Linked DNA regions of Homo sapiens: all the other regions are linked to region 6. Evidence: promoter capture Hi-C in human tissues and cell types (Jung and others, 2019). All regions are on one chromosome and are shown on one strand. The core of a region is centred on a gene start or on the middle of the fragment in contact, and the rest is flanking DNA. Distances in the headings are between cores, read along the strand shown. Region 1 holds the start of DALRD3 (DALR anticodon binding domain containing 3). Region 2 overlaps ARIH2 (ariadne RBR E3 ubiquitin protein ligase 2). Region 3 overlaps ZNF589 (zinc finger protein 589). Region 4 holds the start of FBXW12 (F-box and WD repeat domain containing 12). Region 5 overlaps P4HTM (prolyl 4-hydroxylase, transmembrane). Region 6 holds the start of NCKIPSD (NCK interacting protein with SH3 domain).

The links. Contacts are between HindIII fragments. The study calls those that stand out against the background at their distance.
Region 1: a contact is called between the fragment with the promoter of DALRD3 here and the fragment with the promoter of NCKIPSD in region 6, in 1 of the 25 tissues and cell types used here (dorsolateral prefrontal cortex).
Region 2: a contact is called between a fragment that was not itself captured here and the fragment with the promoter of NCKIPSD in region 6, in 1 of the 25 tissues and cell types used here (H1 embryonic stem cells).
Region 3: a fragment that was not itself captured here is called in contact with the fragment with the promoter of NCKIPSD in region 6 in 1 of the 25 tissues and cell types used here (thymus).
Region 4: a contact is called between the fragment with the promoter of FBXW12 here and the fragment with the promoter of NCKIPSD in region 6, in 1 of the 25 tissues and cell types used here (spleen).
Region 5: a contact is called between a fragment that was not itself captured here and the fragment with the promoter of NCKIPSD in region 6, in 3 of the 25 tissues and cell types used here (bladder, dorsolateral prefrontal cortex and mesendoderm cells).

Annotation. Positions count from the first base shown.
Region 1 is chr3:49,017,212-49,021,313 of GRCh38, forward strand. It overlaps DALRD3 (DALR anticodon binding domain containing 3), which reads right to left and starts at 1,369. Exons shown (of 12, transcript NM_001009996.3): 1 at 1,189-1,369; 2 at 812-1,107; 3 at 402-658; 4 at 223-302; 5 at 17-145. The coding sequence starts at 1,353. MIR425 (microRNA 425) reads right to left here and starts at 3,023; the gene lies at 2,937-3,023. It overlaps MIR191 (microRNA 191), which reads right to left and starts at 3,498; the gene lies at 3,407-3,498. It also overlaps a transcript of NDUFAF3 not described here. RefSeq lists enhancers at 145-916, 3,997-4,102 and a silencer at 365-599. The HindIII fragment of the contact is 18,150 bases long and covers 1-4,102 here.
Region 2 is chr3:48,973,524-48,977,977 of GRCh38, forward strand. It overlaps ARIH2 (ariadne RBR E3 ubiquitin protein ligase 2), which reads left to right. Exons shown (of 16, transcript NM_006321.4): 9 at 176-293; 10 at 1,294-1,344; 11 at 1,435-1,456. Among named protein-coding and RNA genes, the nearest start is that of P4HTM, 14 kb to the right of the region's middle. The HindIII fragment of the contact is 5,340 bases long and covers 1-4,158 here.
Region 3 is chr3:48,250,673-48,254,794 of GRCh38, forward strand. The region is part of intron 2 of ZNF589 (zinc finger protein 589); the gene reads left to right. Among named protein-coding and RNA genes, the nearest start is that of ZNF589, 12 kb to the left of the region's middle. The HindIII fragment of the contact is 4,886 bases long and covers 1-3,793 here.
Region 4 is chr3:48,369,597-48,373,468 of GRCh38, forward strand. FBXW12 (F-box and WD repeat domain containing 12) reads left to right here and starts at 2,623. Exons shown (of 11, transcript NM_207102.2): 1 at 2,623-2,724; 2 at 3,088-3,261; 3 at 3,712-3,749. The coding sequence starts at 3,172. The HindIII fragment of the contact is 16,322 bases long and covers 1-3,872 here.
Region 5 is chr3:48,999,044-49,002,998 of GRCh38, forward strand. It overlaps P4HTM (prolyl 4-hydroxylase, transmembrane), which reads left to right. Exons shown (of 9, transcript NM_177939.3): 3 at 2,395-2,585; 4 at 3,457-3,553. LOC124906235 (a long non-coding RNA gene) reads left to right here. Exons shown (of 2, transcript XR_007095904.1): 2 at 1-740. Among named protein-coding and RNA genes, the nearest start is that of WDR6, 6.4 kb to the right of the region's middle. The HindIII fragment of the contact is 8,927 bases long and covers 1-3,955 here.
Region 6 is chr3:48,684,127-48,688,017 of GRCh38, forward strand. NCKIPSD (NCK interacting protein with SH3 domain) reads right to left here and starts at 1,789. Exons shown (of 13, transcript NM_016453.4): 1 at 1,511-1,789. The coding sequence starts at 1,681. It overlaps IP6K2 (inositol hexakisphosphate kinase 2), which reads right to left. Exons shown (of 6, transcript NM_016291.4): 6 at 3,877-3,891. RefSeq lists silencers at 1,297-2,016, 1,410-1,704 and enhancers at 1,901-2,632, 2,227-2,296, 3,679-3,891. The HindIII fragment of the contact is 9,717 bases long and covers 323-3,891 here.

The DNA.
Region 1 (4,102 bases), core at 119-2,618, 330 kb after region 6:
ATCATTATTAACCTACCTGTCTGAGTGGAGCCTTGTCAACCAACTTCTGCCAAAGCAGGTCCAACTTCTGTTGCTGGAACTCCTCCTCACAGCTAACAACATGTACAACCAGGCAGCCGCCTGTACCAGTATCTGAGGCCCCAGCCTAAGGGAGGACAATCATAACTGTGGAAGTACAGTATACTTGGTTTGGGAGAACCTACAGGGCTGGGAGTCACTAACCAGGCCTGGGTGGCTGTCCTCGGGCCAATGCCATAGAGCCTCTTGCAGCTCAGCCAGCACAGAGAGGAGATCCTCAGTCACTGAAAAGAGAACAGACAGGTGCTGAGACTGACAAGAAGCAGAGATGTGCCCCTAACCCCCTCCTGCCTTTTCTGGCCCTGCTAGGCTTCAGGTCCTACCCAGACAGTTGTCCAGGTTGGGGTCATAGCCAGCTGTGCGGCCCTGTTCTTCCACCAGCTCCTTCAGACACAGTCTGCCTAGGATGCCAGGGGACAGTGTCCTCCCGTCATTAGCAGAGGTAAGTTCTTCAAGGGCGTGGCTCCTCAGGGTGTGGGAGGAAGCTCTCTCCGAGGCAGCGGGCCAGTCCACCCGCAGTTGCTGCAGGAAGGTCAGCATGTGCGGATCCCGCACAGCTGGCACTAGGCGCACGCACACCCTGCGAAGGGAGGGCGGCCGCCTCAGTCTGAGCACCTGGTCCAGCTCGCCACGACTTCCCACCTCCAGCCGCAGTCCCCACGGGCGGCGCCGCTCGCTTTCTAGGTACCCGGCAGTCCCACTTTCTCCATTCCGGCCCCGCGGCCCCGCTCACCCGTGAGCGCGCAGGGCTCGCGCCAGGTGATCGGCCACGAGCACCGTACGCAGCTGGCTCAAGCGGAGTGCGCAGGGGGAGCTGCGCAGTGCTGGGCAGTGTAGTAAGACGCGCTGGCCCAGCGAGGCAGGCGAGGCGGGCGTGGCATAGGCGGCCACGGCGCTGAGGACGCGCTCGAAGACGGCGGACCGCTGCAGTTGGAGAGACAGACCCGCGGGGGTCGGCGCGCAGCGCAGCACCGGGGCCACACCGGGGCCCTGCAGGCAGGCGAGGGCATGGAGCAAATGCTCCGGAACCTGCGGGAGAACGGGCGTGTAAAAGAGCCACGGCACGGGGCCCATCTCCCGGCCGCACGGCCCCGCCCGGCTCACGCCCACCTGGCCGTCATCGAAGCGCGCCTGCAGCGCGCGGTGCGGTGCCAGAAAGTCTCGGGAACGCAGGTGGCGGGTGCGCGTCTCCTTGATCCACACCGGACCGCCTGGCCCCAGGGCCGCGTTGAGGGCCCCCAGCGTCTCCCCGACCCCAAGGCGCCTGGTCGCCATGGTGACCGGAAGGAGTAAGCGGAACCGGAAAAAAATTTAGGGAGGTGGAACTTCCGGAAAGGACCGACTAGCTGGGGCGGGGATGCGGCGGTGGTCCCCGTAAGTGGACAGGTGCGCCAGTGGTAGCCCTGTCGGCTGCTTTCGACCTACCGCCCCCAGCGCCCCTTCCGCGTGGTCCACCTGCACAGCCGGGCCCCGGATCTGAAATCTCGGGGCCCTCCCTGGGCCTAGGGTTCTTTCGCTGTGACCCAGGCCTTAACCAGGAAAAGGATCCTCGCGACCCGGTGGGCGCTTAGACCGGGTACCGTCTCTTCTCATCGAAGTCTCACATGTTTGTTTTAATAACATTTCATTTCTCCCATTTTACACATGATGAATATTCGTCACTGGAATAAGGCAGTATAACATTAAGGCCACTTTCACGACCTACTTAAAATATCTCGTTTTAAAAAGAATAGTGTTCCGCGGTTTCAGGTTATTTGCAAGCATTTTCTCGTTTGAGATATGGGTGTTTTTTTGTTTGTTTGAGACGGAGTCTTGCTCTTGTCTCCCAGGCTGGAGTGCAGTGGCACGATCTCGGCTCACTGCAGCCTCCACCTCCCGGATTCACAGGATTCTCCTCCTCAGCCTCCCGAGTAGCTGGGATTACGGGCGCCCGCCACCACGCCCGGCTAATTTTTGTATTTTTAGTAGAGACGGGGTTTCGCCATGTTGGCCAGGCTGGTCTCGAACTCCTGACCTCGTGACCTGCCCGCCTCGGCCTCCGAAAGTGCTGGGATTACAGGCATCAGCCACTGCACCCAGCCCGGGTGGTCTTTATGCCCAATAAATAAGCACTCTGATACAGTTGGCGGTTTTCTTCTCTTGATACCTGAGAAATCACAACCATCATGATGGCTTCCAGAATTACCAGACTTTTTTTTTTTTTTTTTGAGACGGAGTTTCGCTCCTGTTGCCCAGGCTGGAGTACAGTGGTGTGATCTTGGCTCACCGCAACCTCCCCCTCCCGGGTTCAAGTGATTATCCTGCCTCAGTCTCCCAAGTAGCTGGGATTACAGGCACGCGCCACCACGCCCGGCTACTTTTGTATTTTTAATAGAGACGGGGTTTCTCCATGTTTGTCAAGCCTCGAACTCCCGACCTCAGGTGATCCGCCTGCCTCGGCCTCCCAAAGTGCTGGGATTACAGGCGTGAGCCACCGCGCCCGGCTCAGAATGACCAGCTTTTAATGTGACTCCTTTAACCTGGTGTGCTTTAACAACGATCCTTAAAGCTTCCTGTTTTAGGCAACAGCCATTTACGGGCCAACCAAATAATGCGACCATAATAGAAAATAGGCCTCAGTTGGAGTATCTTGCTCCTCTACCAATAGGAAAGGTCTTTTTCTTTCTCCCACAAAGGTTCCCAAATGTCTTCATTTCACTGTAACTTACTCACCCCCCACCCCACCCCCATTCCTTTTAATAGAGAAGCTAACTCAGTAGAGAGAGTTGGGAAATCCGGAGAGCAGGGAAACCCAGGGGCAGGAAAAGCTTGGCAAGGCCCCTTTCTGGGCCAGGGCTGAGGCCCTGCTGGGAGGCGCCGAAAGAGCACTGGGCGGACACGACATTCCCGATGGCTTCTCGGGTGCCCACTCAACGGGAGTGATCGTGTCATTCCAAAGCGCTTTCCATTCTGAAGGTGCATGACCTGGAGACAACTGCTTAGCAGGGTTGGGAACCCTCAGTCAAACTGAGGACTTCAGATACTCTCATCCACGAAGACGGTTGGGGTGGTTTTTCCCCAGGAAGTAAGAGGGCTATCTTTAGCGAGATGCGGGCTGAGGCAGCCCTGGGGGAGTCACTACCATTGCAGCCCTACCCAGAGGTCCTGGGTCCACCCTCCCTCGCCAATCCTCCCCAGGGTTCCAGAGATGGCCACCAGCCTCGGCTCTCCCACGTCTACACCCATCACCTCCAGCCTGAGGGCGCAACTGAGAGGAACTGAGACCCAAGCAGCTCAGTAAAGTATGTCTGGGGGTCAGGGGCACCCCATCTGGGCCAGGGCGCTGCTCAGGCAGGAGAGCAGGGGACGAAATCCAAGCGCAGCTGGAATGCTCTGGAGACAACAGCTGCTTTTGGGATTCCGTTGCCCGCTGTCCAGCCGTTGGCGGGGGGCGGGGGAGCTCCTGCCCCCAGGTCACTCGCCCTGGGGCCACATCAGAACCCGCCCATCCCCAGTCCCAGGAGGAAGACCCGGGAGTAGGTTGTGAAACGGAGTCTAGAGGGAACAAGACGCTCACCTGGGCCACAGAACAATAGAAGGGGAGGTGGGGGCCTCCCCTGGGACCGGGTCCCGATCCGGATTAGATCCGTGGGGCAGGATTAGCCCTGTTGGTCCCACGAAGCCTGGGCCACTGGTGCGGTGACGGTGGTGGGGCGGGCTTCGGAATCCGTCAGGAGGGAAGCGCGCCCGTGGGGCCGGAGAGGAAGTAAACCCGCGCGTCCACCTCGGGGACACCCCCGCGCTCGGTGGCCTTTGTCCGGTGACGCTGCCAGCGCCCGGAGCACCAGGGGCCGAAGGGGTCCACAGAGCAGCCGCGGGACCCCCGGAAACCCATTGCGACCGGCCCCAGGAGACCCACCACCAGGCTCCCACTGTGCCGAGCTTCCCGCTCGCCCGGCCCCGCGGGTAGCGAAAGCGACAATGTTCCCCTGAGGCCACGACAGAGCCGGCGTGCCGAGATGCCCAAACCCCGCGCGGGGGCCAG
Region 2 (4,454 bases), core at 239-2,738, 290 kb after region 6:
CCGAGATCACGCCACTACACTCCAGCCTGGCGACAGAGCAAGACTCTGTCTCAAAAAAAAAAAAAAAAAGAAAAAAGCTCTAATTCATGATTTGTTGGCTTGGATAAAAGGAAAATTTTGAACATGGGACCCTGACTTAATGAATATTTGAATGTTTTTCTTTTCCAATTTTAAGTTTCAAGTGTCGTCAGATGTATCACGCACCCACAGACTGTGCCACAATCCGGAAATGGCTCACGAAGTGTGCAGACGACTCTGAAACAGCCAACTACATTAGTGCTCACACTAAAGACGTAAGGACCGTATTTTACCTCTCATGGATTTGCCCTCCTTAGTGCTGCCCAGGGCCTTGCCTTGGAGATTTGCCATCTGAGAGCAGAATACCCAGAGCCCCAGGACCCTTCCTGAGGACTGGGGGTTTGGGGACCCTCACACAGAGTTGGCAGCTCGTAGCAGTTTATTATAGGATGCATTGGGTGCATATTTTCTTTATTATGATGAAATGCCAAAATGCCAGGAAAGGGGGACCCAAAGGGGGAGCTAATTAGAAGAGAACTAATTATGATTGAACGCCTACCAGCCTTTAACAGCCCTGAAAGGGAGGTGGTTAATAGCCACACTTGATACATATAAGGCTGTAATGCAAGCCCAGACCTGCACGATACTCATTTTGAAGTCTCCCATGGGAAAGTATGGCCTGTGGGCTCTAGGGGCCACTGTACCCTTTGTCAGTCACTCGCCGAGTCAGTGCACTCACAAGCACAGTTACGATAACGACATTATTAAACATAGTCGACTTCACGGCAGTGGGAGATCACAGCATCAGACTGGTGTCTTCATTGCTGCCTCAGGTTGCTGGCATCTCTCAAATGGGAGAGATGAGCTTTAGATGTGGTTTCCTTGCCCTCTTCTCGAAGCAGAAGTTCAGGCAAGCTGACCAGGACTGAATCCATTGTGGCAGCTCCTGTGCTTCTTTGGCAGTCCTCTCAAGAAGGCAGGCTTTCTGCTGATTCAACTTGTGCTTAATCTGAGTAGCTTCATGGCAGGGGCAGATGGTGGAAGACTTAGTGGGGTTCAGCTGGTGCTTGAAGCATTTCAAAGCTAAATGTGCTGACCTCATTTCCTTGAATTGCTGTTCCAGCCTCAGCGACCTGCCACATTTAAGTGAGGTGCTCCTCCCCAGAAGTGCTCACACCATGAGCAACTGGGCACAGGTGCCAGGAGCTTTGTGTAATTTGTCTTAAAACCAACCTGGTGGTGTGTGAGCCTAATGGCACCCTTCTGTCTCCTCAGTGTCCCAAGTGCAACATCTGCATTGAGAAGAATGGAGGCTGCAATCACATGGTGAGCAGAAGCCTCTGCAGTTTGCATGTGTGACATGGAAGCTTTGGTCAGTGTGCCCTTAACGTGTTTTCTTCTGTTTCCCTCTGACAGCAATGCTCCAAATGTAAACACGGTGAGTTCCAAGCTTGGTGTGTAAGGCCCAGTGGCACTTTCTTGTGGTTGGGTCTCCGTTACTATTTAAGTGAGTACTTCTGCCATGAAATGACAAAACATAGAAGAACCTCAGTCACTTAACAGTCACAGTAACTGGCATAAAGTAGCTTTTTATTTTTATTTTCTGTTTTTTGGTCCCTCTTATAATCCCACTGCTATCTTGCTAACACATATAGTCAGAAGTCAAGTTTGGGATAAACCTCATGATCCTCAGTTATCCAAGAAGATGATTTCAGGGTGTTGCTTTCATTTTTTTGCCAAGGCAGGTAAGTAGCTTGGGGCTTATCTGTGCTACGTTGTAGATACCTTTACCAGAAGTAGTAAAATAATGGTTTTCCCTTGCCGTTTTACAAAGTTTCTAGTGGGGGTTTTGATTTAGCCTTTCAGACCTCCTTCATCCATCAGGAATAATTTACATAGCTAGAACCCATGTATGCCATCCGGCCAGGTCAACTGAAGAAACAGAATCCCTTCAAGTAGAAAATATGTCCAAGTGGGTCTTCTACGCAGCTGCTTTGATGCTCAACAGGAGCCCCTGACAGTTTCTTTTTTTTTTTTTTGGGAGAAGGAGTCTCACTCTGTCACCCAGGCTGGAGTGCAGTGGCGCAGTCTTGGCTCACTGCAACCTCCATCTCCTGGGTTCAAGCAGTTCTCCTGCCTCAGCCTTCCAAATAGCTGGGATTACAGGCATCTTCCACCACGTCTGGCTAATTTCTGTATTTTTAGTAGAGATGGGGGTTTGCCATGTTCGAGGCTGGTCTCGAACTCCTGACCTCAGGTGATCTCCCTACCTTGGCCTCCCAAAGTGCTGGGATTACAGGAGTGAGCCACTGTGCCCGACCGAGAATTTTGCTTTGTAAGGGCCTATGCAAATGCTATTTCCAGGAACCCTCTTTTCTTTATTTTTTGAGACAGAGTCTCAGTCTGTCGCCCAGGCTGGAGTGCAGTGGTGTGATCTTGGCTGACTGCAACCTCCACCTCCTGGGTTTAAGCAGTTCTCCCACTTCAGCCTCCTGAGTAGCTGGGATTACAGGCACTCACCACCACACCTGGCTACTTTTTTATATTTTTAGTAGAGACGGGGTCTAACCATGTTAGCCAGGCTGGTGTCCAACTCTTGACCTCAGGTGATCCGCCTACCTTGGCCTCTTAAAGTGCTGGGATTATAGGCATGAGCCACCGAGCCTGTACTTTTTTTTTTTTTTTTCCAAAGATGGAGTTCTGCTCTTGTCGCTCAGGCTGGAATGCAATGGTGTGATCTTGGCTCAATGCAACATCTACCTCCTGGGTTCAAGCGATTCTCACTCCGCCTCCCCAGTAGCTGCTATTACAGGCGCCCACCACCACACCTGGATAATTTTTATATTCTTAGTATAGATGCGGTTTCACCATGTTGGCCAGGCTGGTCTCGAACTTCTGACCCCAGGCAATCCGCCTGCCTCGACCTCCCAAAGTGCTGGGATTACAGGTGTGAGCCACCGCTCCCGGCCCCAGGAGCCCTCTCAATCAGAGTGGTCATGCCAGGATCTTAGACAGCAACATTGACTCTGCAGTGCCAAACGAAGATAGGCCATGGGTAGTGGCATATTTCTTCTGTGGGGCCACATTCTTTCGCTCTCTTTTTCTTTGTATATATCAGAGAGAGAAGTGTATCATACACTTAGAACAATGCAGAAGACACAGAGTTTAAAGAATAATGACAAACATCCCAGCACCCACCACATTCCTAGTGCCTAAGAAGCCCCCTGGGTGTCCATATCCCTTGACACCCAGAGTTCACTGCCATCTCACGAGAATCACTTGAACCCCGGAGGTGGAGGTCACAGTGAGCCGAGATTGTGCCACTGAACTCCAGCCTGGGCGATAGAGCGAGACTCTGTCTCAAAAAAAAAAAAACTGGCTGGGCGCGGTGGCTCACGCCTGTAATCCCAGCACTTTGGGAGGCCGAGGTGGGCGGATCATGAGGTCAGGAGATCGAGACCATCCTGGCTAACATGGTGAAACCCCATCTCTACTAAAAAAAAATACAAAATTAGCCAGGCGCAATGGCGCACTCCTGTAGTCCCAGCTATTCGGGAGGCTGAGGCAGGAGAATCGCTTGAACCAGGGAGGTGTAGGTTGCAGTGAGCCAGGATCGCACCACTGCACTCCAGCCTGGGCAACAGAGTGAGACTCCGTCTCAAAAACAAACAAACAAACAAAAAACTGCCATCTCTTTCTTTGCTGTATGTTTTATACCACCTATATGGGCAACCGTAGGGAATGTGGTTTTTTGTTTTGTTTTGTTTCGTTTTTTGAGATGGAGTCTCACTCTGTCACCCAGGCTGACAGGCTGAGTGCAGTGGTGCGATCTCGGCTCACTGCAACCTCCACCTCCCAGGTTCAAGCAATTATCCTTGCTCGGCCTCCTGAGTAGCTGGAACTGCAGGCACATGCCACCATACCCAGCTAATTTTTGACAGAGTCTCACTCTGTCGCCTGGGCTAGAGTGCAGTGGTGCGATCTCGGCTCACTGCAACCTCCGCCTCCTGGGTTCAAGCGATTCTCCTGCCTCAGCCTCCCAAGTAGCTGAGATTACAGGCGTCCGCCACTATACCCAGCTAATTTTTTGTATTTTTGGTAGAGACGGGGTTTCACCTTGTTGGCCATGCTGGTTGTGAACTCCTGATCTCATGATTAGCCCACCTTGGCCTCCCAAAGTGCTTGGATTACAGGCGTGAGGCACCGTGCCCGGCCTGTATTGTTCTTTAAAATGGTAGCAAGCACACCTAGCTAATTAAGGAGAGGGCATTGTTGCCACTATTAGGTGAAGGCTCCCAGGAGGAGAAAAATTGAACAACCTCTGGGTCTCCGGGTTTTGCTTTGGCTTCCCTAAAATGATTCAAGAGCCTCATTTTTGGGGAAGTCAGTAAGCCAAGTTATCCCTGGAGAGTGAATCCTGGGAAACAGGATTTACC
Region 3 (4,122 bases), core at 101-2,600, 430 kb before region 6:
TGTTGGCCAGGCTGGTCTCGAACTCCTGACCTCAGGTGATCCGCCCTCCTCGGCCTCCCGAAGTGCTGGGATTACAGGCGTGAGCCACCACACCTGCCCCGTCTTTTGTCTTATATTTGTTTTGTGAATATTTTGTTCTAGCCTAGAGCCTGCCTATTCGTTTTCTTAACGTCTTTTGATGAGCAAGAGTTTTAAAATTTTGATGATGTTTGTTAAAACTATAAAATGGTTTTTTAAATATGAAATTTTTGTGTTTTTAGTGGAGACGGGGTTTCACCATGTTGGCCAGGCTGGTCTCAAGTTCCTGACCTCAAGGTAACCTCCCACCTCGGCCTCCCAAAGTGCTGGGATTGCAGGTGTGAGCCACCGTGCCCGGCCTAGATCAATTTCTTATGTAGCTAGATTCTCCAAGACCACCAGTTCCATTCTCCCTGTGAATCTTAATGGTGACTTGATGAATATGAATTTATCGGTTGATTTAGGGACCAGTGACTTTTGAGGATGTGGCTGTGCTTTTCATTGAGGCAGAGTGGAAGAGACTGAGCCTTGAGCAGAGGAACCTATACAAAGAAGTGATGCTGGAAAATCTCAGCACGCAACTGTAGTTCCAGCTACTCGGGAGGCTGAGACAGGAGAATCACTTGAACCTGGGAGGCGGAGGTTGCAGTGAGCTGAGATCACACCACTGCACTCTAGCCTGGGTGACAGAGCAAGACTCCATCTCAAAAAAAAAAAAAATTAGCTGGGCGTGGCGATGCGTACCTGTAATCCCAGCTACTTGGGAGGCTGAGGCAGGAGAATCACTTGAACCTGGGAGGCAGAGGTTGCAGTGAGCTGAGATTGCACCAATGTACTCCAGCCTGGGCAACAGAGTGAAACTCCATCTCAAAAAAAAAAAGAAACTGTTTAATTTAAGATCACCTTTAAGTTGCGGTGATTTTTAGTTTTTTTTTGGTGTGGTATGAGATAGGGATTGGCGTTCTTTATTTTTAAATTTGGGCGTTCAGTTCTTCCAACACTGTTTTTTTGAAAAGACTTTCCTTCCTTCATTGAATTCCTTTGATACTTTTGTTAAAAATCAATTGTGGGGCCAGGCACAGTGGCTCATACCTGTAATCCTAGCACTCTGGGAGGTCAAGGCAGGTGGATCGCTTGAGCCCAGGAGTTCGAGACCAGCCTGGGCAACGTGGCGAAACCTCATCTTTACGAAAAGTACAAAAAAATTAGCTGGAGTTACTCACCTGTAGTCCCAGCTATGTGGGAGGCTGAGGTAGGAGGATCTCTTGAGCCTGGGAGGTTGAGGCTGCAGTGAGCCATGTTCACACCACTGCACTCCAGCCTGGGTGATGGAGTGAGACCCTGTCTCAAAAAAAAAGAAAAATCAATTGTGGGTCTGTTTTCTCGGTGCTCTGTTCTGCTCCATTGAACTCTTCTCACATTTGTATTGTGCTCCTCACTAATGTAGTAGCTTTATGGTGAGTCTTAAAATCAGGTAGTGTAAGTCCTTAAATTTTATTATTATTATTATTTTTTTTTTGAGACAGATTCTCGCTCTGTCTCCCAGGCTAAAGTGCAGTGGCATAATCTTGGCTCACTGCAACCTCCACCTCCTGGGTTCAAGCGATTCTCCTGCCTCAGCCTCCCTAGTAGCTGGAACTACAGGCACAGGCTGCCATGCACGGCTAATTTTTTGTATTTTTAGTAGAGATGGGGTTTCACCGTGTTAGCCAGGATGGTCTCGATCTCCTGACCTTGTGATCCACCCGCCTCGGCCTCCCAAAGTGCTGGGATTACAGGCATGAGCCACCATGCCCAGCTGTCTTTTGCATTTTTATATAAATATTGAAATCTATCAATTTGAAATTGAAAGTCTTATCAATTTGTACAATGGGATTTTGATTGAATTGCTTTGAATTTTTATATTAGTTTGGGGGAGAATAATATCTTTTTTTTTTTTTTTTTTTTTTTTGAAACGGAGTCTCGCTGTCGCCCAGGCTGGAGTGCAGTGGCAGGATCTCGGCTCACTGCAGGCTCCGCCCCCTGGGGTTCACGCCATTCTCTTGCCTCAGCCTCCCAAGTAGCTGGGACTACAGGCCACTGCCACCTTGCCCGGCTAATTTTTTATATTTTTAGTGGAGACGGGGTTTCACCATGTTATCCAGGATGGTCTCAATCTCCTGACCTCGTGATCCACACGCCTCCCAGAGTGCTGGGATTACAGGCGTGAGCCACTGCGCCCAGCCATGAGAATAATATCTTAACATTATTGAGTTTTCTGGTCCATCAGCGCAGTATCTCTCCATTTATTTAGACAATTTTTTCCTCATTTATGTAGATCTTTATCTTAATAATCTGGGCGTTTTTTATTTTTATTTTTTGAGACAGAAGATCCCTCTGTTTCCCAGGCTGGAGTGCAGTGGTGCAATCTCAGCTCACTGCAGCCTCTACTTCCTAGGTTCAAGTGATTCTCTTGCCTCAGCCTCCTGAGTAGCTGGGATTACAGGCGTGCACCACTACACATAGCTATTTTTTGTATTTTTAGTAGATGGGCTTTTGCCACGTTGGCCAGGCTGGTCCCAAATTTCTGACCTCAAGTGATCCACCTGCCTTGGCTTCCCAAAGTGCTTGGACTACAGGTGTGGGCCACCATGCCCGGCCATCACCGTTAGTATTAATGAACCAATAATAATGGTGGTTATTAACTAAAGTCCAACTTTATTCAGATTTCTTTAGTTTTAATGACCATTTTCTGTCCCAAAATCCCATCCAGGTTATCATGTTACACTTAGTTGTCACGTCTCCAAGGTAGTACTAGTCATATTTTTCTTTTTTTTTTTTTTTTTTTGAGACGGAGTCTCGCTCTGTCGCCCAGGCTGGAGTGCAGTGGCACCATCTCGGCTCGCTGCAAGCTCTGCCTCCCGGGTCCACGCCATTCTCCTGTCTCAGCCTCCCGAGTAGCTGGGACTACAGGCGGCTGCCACCACGCTAGGCTAATTTTTTTTTGTATTTTTAGTAGAGACGGGGTTTCACCGTGTTAGCCAGGATGGTCTCGATCTCCTGACCTCGTGATCCACCCACCTCGGCCTCCCAAAGTGCTGGGATTACAGGCGTGAGCCACCGTGCCCGGCGCTAGTCAGATATTTTGTAGATTGTCCCTTACTTGGGATTTGTTTGATGTTTTCCTCAAGTGAGAGGATTGCTTGAGCCCAGGAGTTCAAGACTAGTCTGAGCAACACAGCAAGAACCCATCTCTATAAAAAATTAAGAAATTTGCTGGGATTGGTGGCATGTACCTGTATCCTAGCTACTTGGGAGGCTGCCGTGGGAGGATCACTTGAGCTCAGGAGTTTAAGGCTACATTGAGCTATTATTATGCCACTGTACTCCAGCCTGGGTGACAGAGCGAGACCTTATCTCTTAAAAAACAAACAAAACAAGCTGGGCGTGGTGGCTCATGCCTGTAATCCCAGCTACTTGGGAGGCTGAGGCAGGAGAATTGCTTGAACCCAGGAAGTGGAGGTTGCGGTGAGCTGAGATCGTGCCATTGCACTCCAGCCTGGGCAACGAGTGAAACTCTGTCTCAAAAAAAAAACTAAACAAAAAATCAGTCGATGTTTGTGTCGGTCATTTCTGGACTCTATTCTGTTCCACTGATCTACTTGCCTTTGTTTTTGCCCATACCACACTGTCTTGATAAATGTAGCTTTATAATAAGTCTTGGAATTGGGTAATATGAATCCTTCAACTTTATTCTTCAGTATTTTGTTAGCTATTCCAGGTCTTTTGTCTTTCCATGTAAACTCTACAATCAGTTTCTCGATAGGTACAAAATAGCTTGCTGAGTTTTTGACTGGGTTTGCATTGAATCTATACATTGAGATCGGAAGAGCTGATATCATAATACTGAGTCTAACTATCCATGAAGATAGACTGTCTTACCATTTGTTTAGATCATCTTTGATTTCTTTCATCATTGTTTGTAGTTTTTCACATGTAGACTATGTACATGTTTTGTTAGAGTTGAACCTAAGTATTTAATTTTTTTGGTGCTCTGTGTGTATGTGTGTGTGTAAAATTTAAAATTCTAATTGTTCATTGCTGGTATATAGGAAAGCAGTTGAC
Region 4 (3,872 bases), core at 1,373-3,872, 310 kb before region 6:
CTCTTCTCTTTGAGCCATTAGAGCATAACAGCTAAGAGCACTGGCTCTGGGGCTGACTGCTGGGGTTCAAACCCGGTGCCATTTCCCAGGGGTGTCACTGTGGGCAAGTCACCTAACCTCTGTATGTGTTGGCTCCCACCTATGTGTTCTAAAACTGGTGCCTGGGATTGGTTTTAATCAGGTGTGGCAAAGCGTGCAGACACAGCAATGATTGTCATGAAGGAAGAAGTTTATACTCACAGATCCCTATAAACAAGAGGCCTGGCTCCCCACGCAGGGCCACATGGAGAGCACCAAGGGCAGTCAGGAGGCAGAAGGGGCGGGGCAGCATAGGCCTGAGCCTTTATTGTGTTTTCTGTAAGAAACGAAGAGGGCAGAACAGGGTAAGCCTTTTAGAATGGGCTAGTTTAAATGGTTCTGGCTGGCTTTGAGGCATAGGGGCCGTCTCCAGTTGTCTGGTACCTGGCCCTGGGTTGATTTAGGGCAGGAGGAATATTAACTTGCTGTGTGAGAGTTTGGTAAAGGAGATGATTGTGGGTGTGGGCTGTAGCTTGGTTCGTTTGCATAAAAGGCACTCTCCTTTGCTATCTGGCTAGGCCTGGGAAGGAGAGTCTCTCCCCAGTCAGCAAGATCACAAATGCCAGAGCATCAAGAATACAGAAAATTAAAAATATACAGAGAATACAACTGGCCCTGTGATGGATGCCAGACAAATTCAGAATCTAAGAGAACACGGAGCACCCTGGCAAGGTGGCCAGTAATAGGACTTACCTCATCTAGCCGTTGTGAGGATTAAATAGATGAGCCCCTGTAAATTGTTTAGACGGGTGCCTTGCCTGCAGAAGGCGCCATGAAAGGTGTGCTGTTACTTCTCCCCTTGCTACGCCCCCTTTACTTCCCATGCTGTGTCGTCCCTCCCTCTCTGTCCTACTCTCAGGCTGCCCAACTCCTTATGGATCCCTCTTCTCAGGTTTCCCCAGCTGCCTGCTTTAATCTACTTTCTCCTAGACAATGTCCGGACCATTCTCTCACCTGCATCTTATCTTTTGCTTAGACTATTACGCAGTTACCATTTCACATCTCTCAAATTTTACATCTCTTAACTCTTGTGACATTTAGATTTGTCTTCATCTATTGTTGCAATGTGTCTTTCTCTGCCGCTTTTCTGGTAGCACCCCGCCACCACCACCCCCCAACACACCTTCCTGTTCCTCTATTTTTTTTGTTGTTGTTGTTGAGATGGAGTCTCGCACTGTCGCCCAGGCTGGAGTGCAGTAGCGCAATCTCAGCTCACTGCAACCTCCACCTCCCAGCTTCAAGCAATTCTCCTGCCTCAGCCTCCCAAGTAGCTGGGATTACAGGCACCCGCCACCACGCCCAGCTAATTTGTTGTATTTTTAGTAGAGACAGGGTTTCACTATGTTGGCCAAGCTGGTCTCAAACTCCTGACCTGGTGATCCACCCGCCTCGGCCTCCCCAAGTGCTGGGATTACGGGCATGAGCCACTGTGCCTGGCCTCTGTTCCTCTATTTCAAATTCATTCATTCACTCATTCGGCAATTTGCTTCAGTTTCCTTATGTTTGCCTCTTTCTCATCTGTCCTCTTTTCCATTTTATTCCTACTCTGTCTCAGTCCACTTACAGTTATATTTCCTATCTGTGTATTTTATAATATTTGTGCTTTAATACTTTTAAAATATCCTTTATTTTACTGTTTCTTCTCTTCCCTTGTCATATTTTAAAGTGTTTTATTTCTCAGCCTTCTATATCTTTGCATTAATTCTGTTCCTCTACAATAGAGTCCGTTCCAAGCTTTCTGTCTTCCTGTGTCCTTCCACGGCTCTGGCTCTCTCTGCATTATTTCCTATTTATGGAATACAAATCTTTTACCCTTGTATTTTTCTCACTCCTCTCCACACACCCCTTGACTCGCCTTTCCCCACGCCCCTCTAGGTGCTTCTTGGTCTTTGCTTTTCCTTTTTATTTCCTCACCATGTCAATTTGTATTTTTCCTCTCTCTTACTACTGTATCATAAATGGGACTCCCGACAACCACTCCCGTGTGTCTGCCTGGAGGCAGCAGTTTTAAGAAGGGTTGGCCACTGAGCCTCACAGAGGGACCCCTGTCTTATGCTGCAGCAAAGTACCATAGACTGGGTGGCTTACAAACAAATTTATTTCTCACAATTTTGGAGGAGAGAAGTCCAAGAGTCACCTGTCAGCACGGTCAGGTTCTGGTGTGGGCCTTCTTCCAGGTTGCAGCTGACACCTTCTCATGTCCTCGCATGATATGAACAGGGCTAGAGAGCGTTCTGGGGTCTCTTTTATAAGGTCACTGGTCCCATCATAAGGACTCTGCCTGTGACCCACTTACCTCCCAAAGGCCCCCCACCTCCAATCACACCAAGGGTTAGAATTTCAACGTAGGAATTTTGAGAGGACACAAACACCCAGGCTATGACACGGTCTTTAGAAAATCCCAGAATGAGTTGTCAGGTTCTTGGGAGATCTGTAACTGTGGGAAAGCGTCACATCCCAGGGAAAGCCACCAGCTGGGAGAGCCATCCCAGACAAGGCCTGCTCCCTTTGGGCGGACCTCTGTGGAGAAGCCAGCTTGGCACGTTCTTTCTCCTCCACTGCAAAGTTAAATGCGAGAAGGTAGAAACCCAGAGGCCATGCTGGCGCTGAGAGATGAGCCCCACTCACCAGATTCAAGATCCCAAGGTAGGCACAGACACAGGGCAAGCAGACTCCAATTCCAGGAGTTTGGAACTTAAATAGAGTCATAGAGACACTCAGATCTGATCAAAGTGAGTGCACTCGGTGACATTTCCTAAAGGGTTCTGACAACTTCATCTGCAACTGGGGCTGCCCCAGGTTCTGCACCTCCAGCTCACAGCGCACAGGTGTTGCTGAGCTCCTCTAAACAATGAACAGCACTAACAAGTGGGTTTAGGTAGGGATGCCTGCCAGCTGTGTGGATCAGGCCCCAGGGGAGAGGCCGGGGTGGAGGTCAGCCCGGGAGTCTGCACACCTGCAGCTTGTTTCTACCGCACACAGATGGGCATGGGTGAAAATCTTTACAAGTGCTGCAGACTTTGGCAAAGCCTATAAATTCAGAGCAGCCCGGAGAGGAGAAAGGAAAGTGGATGTGGGTTCAGGCCGCATGAAATGGAGATCCGATTGCCTGACTTAGCTTTGAAGCGAATCTTCTCTTTCCTGGACCTGTTCGGCTTGCTGCAGGTTTCCCAGGTGAACAAGGTAAAGGCCTTCCACCTCCCACTGCCCCCCAAGCCCGCTGCTTCTCTCGACCAGTTTGAGCACCACTTTGCAGAATAGCAGAGGGTTACACTGAGGCTTTGGGGGTTAGCATTCTTCATACTGAGGGCCTCATATTCTGTTAAACGAAAAGGACAAGCTGATATCCAGGAGTTGTGCTGACTAAACAGTCCTTGAGGCTCCCATTTCAAGCCCTAGGAAATCAACACTTCTTCCTGTGAATTCATGGGAATACCCAGTGCCTGTATTAGCAGTGATAGGTCTCTGTTGTTACCATTTCCTTATCTCCCCACACTGAGAGTGCTTTGAGAGCTGGAATCCCATCTGATTAACCTGTGCGGGCCCAGCTCCCAGAACAAATAATAGCAGAGGATTACCCTTGCTCTCTGATGTAACTGATTGCCTGCTTGTCTCTTCCTTTCTCTCCCATAGCATTGGAATAGGATTGCAGACAGTGATTACCTGTGGAGGTAAGGGAAGGGAAAGGGCAAGGAGGGAAGGGGAGAGGAGATCATCTGACTGCGCACCCATGCTGTGTCCCAAGGCCTGTGTGGCTGTGTTGTGAGATATACACAGGAAAGTTAGTGTGAGTA
Region 5 (3,955 bases), core at 908-3,407, 320 kb after region 6:
CATTGATGGTCTCCTGCCTAAGGGCACCTGGTTCCCTCTGTCTGGAACACTCTAACAAAACGATCCATTTTCCTCTCTGTGCCTGTCAGCGCCCAGCCCTGATAGGTGCTCAGGTGCTCAGCAAGGATTACTGAAGACCTGAGCCACCAGAGCAGGGCCCTGAGGGAGCCCTCCAGGGCCCTGCACCTGGAAGCCCCTGTCCTACCTGTCAAGGCATACAGGGGTAAATAGCAGAGGAAGAGGCGGGCATCGGGGTGGCACTCCCAGGCAAGCAGGAGCAGCCAGCTGACCAACTGCTGGATGGCCTCAGCTGCTGTGATGTGGTCCAGCAAGTTGGGCAGACGCATCTGTGTAGCCAATGTCGTGGCATAGGGCCATGGCTTGGGGAATGGGCATGCACCTCATGCAGCCCCAGGGAGCCCCTGACCCTGCTGTCATCCCACAGCATCACCAGTGTCACCAGCAGCCACAGCCCCTGCTCCATCACTGCCTTCTGTGCCTTGGCCTTAATGAACTGAGGTTGAGGGTTTTATAGGGCTGTTCCTGCACCCAGGGAGCCAACAGAGGAGATCCTGCAGGGGTTTGCACAGCTCCGAGGTGCCCGGACCCACCTGGTGAGGCCCCAACATGCTGACTGGGCTGTTTGTTTTTGATTAGCACACAGCAGGGGACTGTAGAGGCTGGAGGCACCTCCACTGGGCTTGCAGATTACTGGCACCTAATAAACTGAAGAAACCTGGGCCTGTGTTTTCTTTTCTTTTTCTGGCTTCCTTTTTCTTTCTTTTTAAATTTTGTGTGTTAAGCAATCAAGAGGTGACTCTGTTGATTTGCAATTTGATCTAATCCATTGTTCCACAGGGCTGTCTCCCCTTGGATCACACCCTTTCTGGGTTTGCTGGGGTCACGGGATCATGCAGGCCAAGAGTGGGGGCCTTTGTCCTATCCTCAGTGTTATCACATCAGGGTCACCTGCTCCTAGTAGCTGAATCTGGTCATGAGCATGGTTTCTGGAACACAGCAGGCTGGGTGGCCAGTGGCAAGGCACTGATTTCTCTGTGCTTGGGTTTCCTCTTAGATAGGAAGGTTGAATTAATGGGGCCTGGCCTCCTAGGGTAAGTATAAGGATTAAGGAGTTGATGTGTATGAAGTGCTTAGGACAGTGCCTTGGGCAGAGTCTGTGCTACCTAAGTATTTTCTGCTGTAATTACTATTAAAAACCACTCCAGGCCAGGTGTGGTGGCATATGCTTATAATCCCAGCACTTTTGAGCCCGAGGTGGAAGGATAGCTTGAACCCAGGAAATTGAGACCAGCCTGGGCAATATAGGGAGACTCCATCTCTACAAAAAATAAAAAAATAAAAAAAGCTCCAACCCTGGTGCTGAGTGACCATTTTCCTTCCTCTTGGCAATGACTGGAACTTTGTGCTGGAAGTGTAACTGAGAGAAGCGGCAGGCCACTCCGCAGGTAGCAGTGCTGCCCTTCCTCCAGTCAGCTCCTCTGCGTGCTTCTTGTCCTCCAGTGAAGACCGCTCTCCCAGGAACAAGGGAAGGAAGCAGGGCCCATGCTCCTGCTCTGGAAGTGTCTGGGGCTACCAGAATGTGGGCTCCCTAGATGTGAGGCTCAGGTTCTAGCTCCACCAAGCCACCTACCAGCTGTGCCTGGTGTGCAGGCAGCCAGCCACTGAAGCCAAGCCCCAGGCCTGACTGATCTTTACTCAGGGGTGTAGAGGCATAGAGTAGGCACTAAGTGAACATTTGTACCAGGGAAGGAATCAAGGAAGCAAAGGACACCTGGGACATCTTTTCAGAGACCAGTATCTGCCCAAAACCTGAGTAACCCTCACTGATCTTCCAGCACTGGGCAACTCAGCCCTGGTCAGATGGCCAGCACCCATCTTTGCAGGAAATTGGAGGGGAAGGCCCTTGGACTGGCCTGAAACATTGGATGTCTTGTGCTGTTTTTATTTGAATAATGCTGAAAAGTTAAAATGAAAGCAAGAAGCAGCCACCATCTCCCCACTTTAAATATTTATACCCAGTAAAAAGTAGCAATCAAGCCTCTGCCCTTCAGGATCACTCTCTAGCCTTCAGTCCCAACCCAAAGATGGGTCAGCCCATATCCAGGTTAGCTCTGGCTCACCTCCCAGGGCTCTCCTGGAAAATGTGTGCTCTCATCATCAAGAGAGGTCCCACATTTCCAACGCCAGCCAGCCTTTGCAGGACAACTCAATCTTGACAAGTCAGAATCAAGGGGTCTGTAAAATCCTCCATCCTCCAGACCTGGTGGCCACTGAGGGACATGCAGTACCCCAGGAACCCTGAAGGGAGGAAGGTACTGGGTGCACCAGCGCCCTGGCTCAGTCCTTGGCCTCACCCACCTCCTCTTCTGGCAGAAATCCCCGGCTTCCTGACTGATGAAGAGTGTCGGCTCATCATCCATCTGGCGCAGATGAAGGGGTTACAGCGCAGCCAGATCCTGCCTACTGAAGAGTATGAAGAGGCAATGAGCACTATGCAGGTCAGCCAGCTGGACCTCTTCCGGCTGCTGGACCAGAACCGTGATGGGCACCTTCAGCTCCGTGAGGTTGGAATCCTGGGACCTGAGTAGGCTCAGGGTGGGAGTGCCCAGAATCACCTTTCTGGTGGCCAGGTCACTTGTCCAGCCCAGGCCTGGTCCCAAAAGTCAGATACTACCCAGACCTGCCTGGGCATGCCCAGACCCAGGAGGTCCCCTTTCCCTCTGGAGAGCTCTTGGCTACCCTGGGAACCTCAGAAGATGGCAGGAGAATCCACCTGGGGGTGATGGCATTTATCACCATAGTTTTGGAGGGATGCACCTCTGTAGCCTGCATTCCTTGCTCTCATGGCTGGGGGCCCCACAGAACTCATGGTGGATGGGGTGGCAGCTCTGAGGTGGCCAGCAGCCTGCCTCTCTCTCTGCATAACTCTCACACACTCTACAGCCAGGCTGGAGGGCCAAGCTTCTGAGAGAAGTCTGGCAGGGTGGTGGTGCGGGGCACTGCCCACACAGAACACCCCACTGAGCCTGGTCTTTCTGAGGGATCTGGTGGTCATGCCCTAACCAGGTCTCCCCCTGGTGCCTGTTCTCCCTTAACACCCAGGACTTGGCTTTCCCCATCTCACCCGGAGTATCTGAGTGGGACACAGGCCTGTCCTTCACTCTGCTTCCAACCAACAGTGCTCTCCATGAAGGCCACGGGGCCTTAGTCCGGGAATGCAAATGGCCTACGCCTCTTGACCCCCAGCCCCCGGCCTTCTCCTCAGATGCTCTGTACCTTTCTACCTGCACTCACTTTGGCCCAATGGGCTCTGCCCTGTGTCCTCATCCATGCCCTCACCTGAACACTTTGCTCCACAACAAGCACTGGGCCATCTGTTCTCTGCTGGCTCTCCATCACTGGGGTCACCCACTGAGGGACCCTCTTATGCTTTAGGTTCTGGCCCAGACTCGCCTGGGAAATGGATGGTGGATGACTCCAGAGAGCATTCAGGAGATGTACGCCGCGATCAAGGCTGACCCTGATGGTGACGGTGAGCTCACACCTCTGCACAGTCCTATCCCCGTGAGCCTCCTGCCCACTCCCAGGTGCACAATTTTGAAAACTTGGGCCCTTCCCCCACAGCCAGGCAGCCTCTCTGCACCCCTTTATAGTGGCCAGAGATGGGGAGGTGAAGATCCAGCCTTGCTTTTTACCCCTGGGAAGTAGGCAGGCAGCCAGGCCCCCCGTTCCCCTTGGTGATGGTCTCGAGGGCAGTTCTTGGAGACCCTTTTGATAACATCAGGCAGAGTTGAGAGCCTGGGGACAGGAAGTAGGGCTGCTAGTTGGCAGAGAACAGAGTGGGTGGAGCAGGAGCAAGGCGACAGTGAGGCCAGCTAGAGCTTGGCTGTTTACCCTGCTCCATCCATCTCTCCAGCCAGACACGAGGTCCACC
Region 6 (3,891 bases), core at 539-3,038:
TGGGGGGAGCCGGAGGAAGAAACAAAAACACACACATGTGGAGTCGGAACGACACAGGCAGAGAGGCACAGAGTCGCAGCAATCCAGACAGAAAGAGACACGCAGAAAGAAACAGACAGTGACAGAGAAGATGGTAGCCTCTCTGCCCTCCCCAAACACCTTGCCCCACTGGTCCTGGCTGGCGGCAGGGGACTCACAGGCCCTTGACCTATGCCCAGTAGGGGAAGAGACAGGACTTTTCCTCAGAGGCCTTCAATGAGACCCCATTCCCAAAAAGGTTGGGTCTGACACACAGCAGCCATGGTGTCCACGGCCCCCACTCCCACCCCTGGCACTCCTAGATGGGATCACGCCAAGGGTCTATGAGGAAGCCCCTAGGCCCCCAGGGCCCATCCTTCCTGGTAAGACCAGATGACACTTCCAAATTTATCCCGTTATTTCTGTCCTGAACTGGGCTGGGACAGGATGTTTCCTAAAGGATAAGGACTAGGACGGGGCGGGGGTGTCTGGCACAGGCCCGGCAGCTCTGGGCCCTTCTTCCCCCTGTGGTCAGAATAGACCAGCTGGAGATACGCACCCCAACCCCCGCAGCAGGGCTACTCTTAGGGAAACAGGAACTGGGACTGCAGCTTCCACTGGAAGGAAATGGGGCCACGATCAGACCAGGAGAAGCTATAAGAACTCACTTCATCACAATGTGAGCAGTCCCCACTCCAGGCTGGGAACAAGTAGGGATGGAACCCATTTTCAAAGCAAGAAAGTTTGAGAAGTCAGGGTTGGGGAGTGGAGCAGACAGTGTCAGCAGGGGCATGGGTCCTTGGTTCAAATAAGGTTGGTAGAGACTTAAGAAGAGCTTAGAGGGTGGCTGAACACAGGCTAGTGAAAGACACTGAAGTACCAAAGCTTGGGTGTTACATAGGGGATGGAGGTGTCTATGGCTCTAGGGTCCAAGTTGGGGGGTTGAGGACCTGGAGAATGGCTAGGGAAACAGGTGGTGTCCAAGGTGGTCCAGGTCTCAGTGGTGGCTCCAACGGGGGGCAAGGCGCGGGGTTGGGGGAAGAAGGAAGGGAGGGAGGGAGGGAGGGAGGGAGGGAGGGAGGGAGGTTGGTTGTGGGGTCCTAGGAATCCAGAGAAGGGGCATATTAAGGATCTGGGGTCTCAGGGATTTGAATAATTGGCCAGGATTCGGTGGGGCTCAGGGTCGCCATTCAGATGGCGGACTCGATACTGAAGGGTCTGGGGTCCTGAGGAGTCTCAGTCCCAGAGTTAGGCTTTTGGTCGATCGGGAGTTGGTCTGTCAAGGGCCTGGTCTTTTGTGGGTGATGCTGACACTTGGGGTCTCAGTCCCCGTGGGTCCGGGGGTCTCAGGGTCAGGTTCTCAAACTCCCTGTCTGATAGAGGTCCTGGCCTCGGGTCCCGGAGAGGGTGGGGTCCCTGGGTCGGTTCCGCGGGGCTGTGAAGGGGTCCTGCCCCAGGGGCGCGGAGGCCGGGCGGGAAGGGGCGCACTCACCTGCAGGCGGCGCAGGTAGGCTGGCGGCACGTAGCCCGTCTCACCACTGCGCGCCCGCGCGGCCAGCCACCAGTGCGCGCTGCTTCGCTCTAGCACCAGGAAGGTCTCGCCCGCGGCGAACGCCAGCGCGTTGGGCTCCGCCGAGCGGAACGCGTACAGCGCGCGGTACATGAGGCCGGGCAGGGCAGGTGCAGGGAAGGTGGCAAGGGCTGCGGCGCCACAACGCCAGGCCGGGAGCGCCGAGCCGCGCCGCGGTTGTCCCGCCCCGTGACACACTACGCAGGCGCGCGCGCGCCCGCCCGCCGAAGCCCCGCCCCGGGCTGTATCGTTCCACGCATCGGAGAGCAGCGCCCCCGCGCGGCCCCAAGAGGTGCGGCGGGGCTGGGGTCGACAGCTCGCTGTCTCCTCTGGTCCCTCCCGGCTCCAGGCCCCTCATCCCCGGACACCGCACCCTCACTCCTCACCCCGGCCTCAGTTTCACCCGTCCAGCCCTCTGCTCCCTTTCCCCGCTTAAGTCCGAGCGCTGCGTCCCGTCCTACCTCCCGGTGAAAGCGCGCTCCGCTCGTAGCGGGTGCGCCCCTACCGCCCTGGGGCAGTGGGTCCCATCTACTAATTGCAAGGACGGCGACCTCGAAAGGATGATCTTGCTGATCCGACACTTGGAAGCCCCCGCGGGGCCCGGCTCTCGGTGTGTCTAGGCCTCACCACCTGTCTTCACCGAGTGCCGGTGGTGGCCAGTGGGGAGCAAGTGTGGGGAGAAGGGGGCCACAAAAGCAGAAACCAGGCGGGGCTATTCCCTGTCTAAAGCCCTCCCATCTTTGCTCCCCACCCCTACTCCTCCTCTCTCTTCAGCTATGGCTGGTTTTCTCTATATTGGGCCTTTGCATATTCTGTTCCCTCTACCTGGGACAATTTTCCCTTCCCTCTCCTATAGTATTTGTCCGTCAAGCTCCCACCCCCATCAATCGCTATCATCTTGCTGTGTTTTATTGTCTTTATAGGACTTAAGATTTGCGATGCCCCTTTCTGAGAGCATAGAGGAGGGCTGAAAGAGGGAGTGGGGTACCACGGTGGCCTTAAGAGCCTATTTGATCCACCCAGCTTTCCAGTCAGCCCAGATCTCCAGATATATGAAATCCGTGTAATAAGAGTGCCTGGAAGACCCAGGGAAGAGGCCCTCAGGGTCCTGGAGAGACTGTGGCTGAGAATGGTCCAGCTACGCTCCACAGGAAGCCCGAGCCCAGGAAGCAGGAGGCGTGTACAGGCCAGTGTGTGCAAGTTTTCTATTTTTATCTGTATTTATTTTTTGAGACAGGGTCTTGCTCTGTCGTCCAGGCTGGAGTGCAGTGGGATGATCAAGCTCATTGCAGCCTTGATCTTCCAGGCTCAAGCCTACTGTCTCTGGGACTACAGGCATGCACCACCACACTCAGCTTTTTTTTTTTTTTTTTTTTTTTTTTTTTTTAGTAGAGACAAGGTCTTGCTATGTTGCTCTGGCTAGTCTCAAATTCCCGGACTCAAGCAGTCCTCCCAGTGTTGGGATTATGGGTGTCTGTCTGACCCAGTTGCCTATTTTTAGGCCTAAAGTACATAGGCCTAGTGTGAGGTTCAGGTGAGGGGTAGAACTGCTAGAAACTGACATCCAGACCCTGCCTTCTCTGCACCAGGTCTGGCTCTTCAGTTCAAGACCTCTCTTGGCCCTTCCTCCTCCCAGAAGCCCTCCTGGGGCAGGGCAGAATCTCGGGGTCTGTGCTGTCTGGGACTGCCTGAAGAATAAGACTGGTGAAATTGCAATGGGGACTAGGGCTGGGCAGGAGTGGTGACAGGTGGTGTGGCCAAGAGGACCACCCTACCTGCCCAAACACGCCTTTTTATGGTACCCTCCATCACCTGGGCCCCTTTACAACACAGTCCATGGCTGCCAATGGACCAGACCCGAGGCTAGAGACCCTAGTATTGCTTCCAGGACATCTATCACAATAGCCAGCCAATTAGCTGCTGCCAGTGGCATAGGAGGGATTAAAAGCTGGACCCAAGGTTTGGATCACCTGCTATCTAATTGGCTTAAGCTGCATACGGCCCATGAGAAGACCTGTGTCAAGCGTCATGTGGTTTTTGGATAGAGGTGCTGAGACACTTAGCCAGCACAGACGCCAGAAGGTATGTAACTTGGGGATCCTTTCTGGGTAACCTTCAGGATGCTGGGTTGGAGACTGTACACCATGCCAAGAGGTTGTGCTGACTTTAGGATCCATGGAGTGGGGGTGGCAGCCAGGAGAATACTGAGCCAGGGAGGTGGTCACAGCATGTGGTGAGGCTTGGGAGGGGGACTGCCTGCTCTTGGAAAGAATGACAGGAGCACTATATACAATAAACAAAAA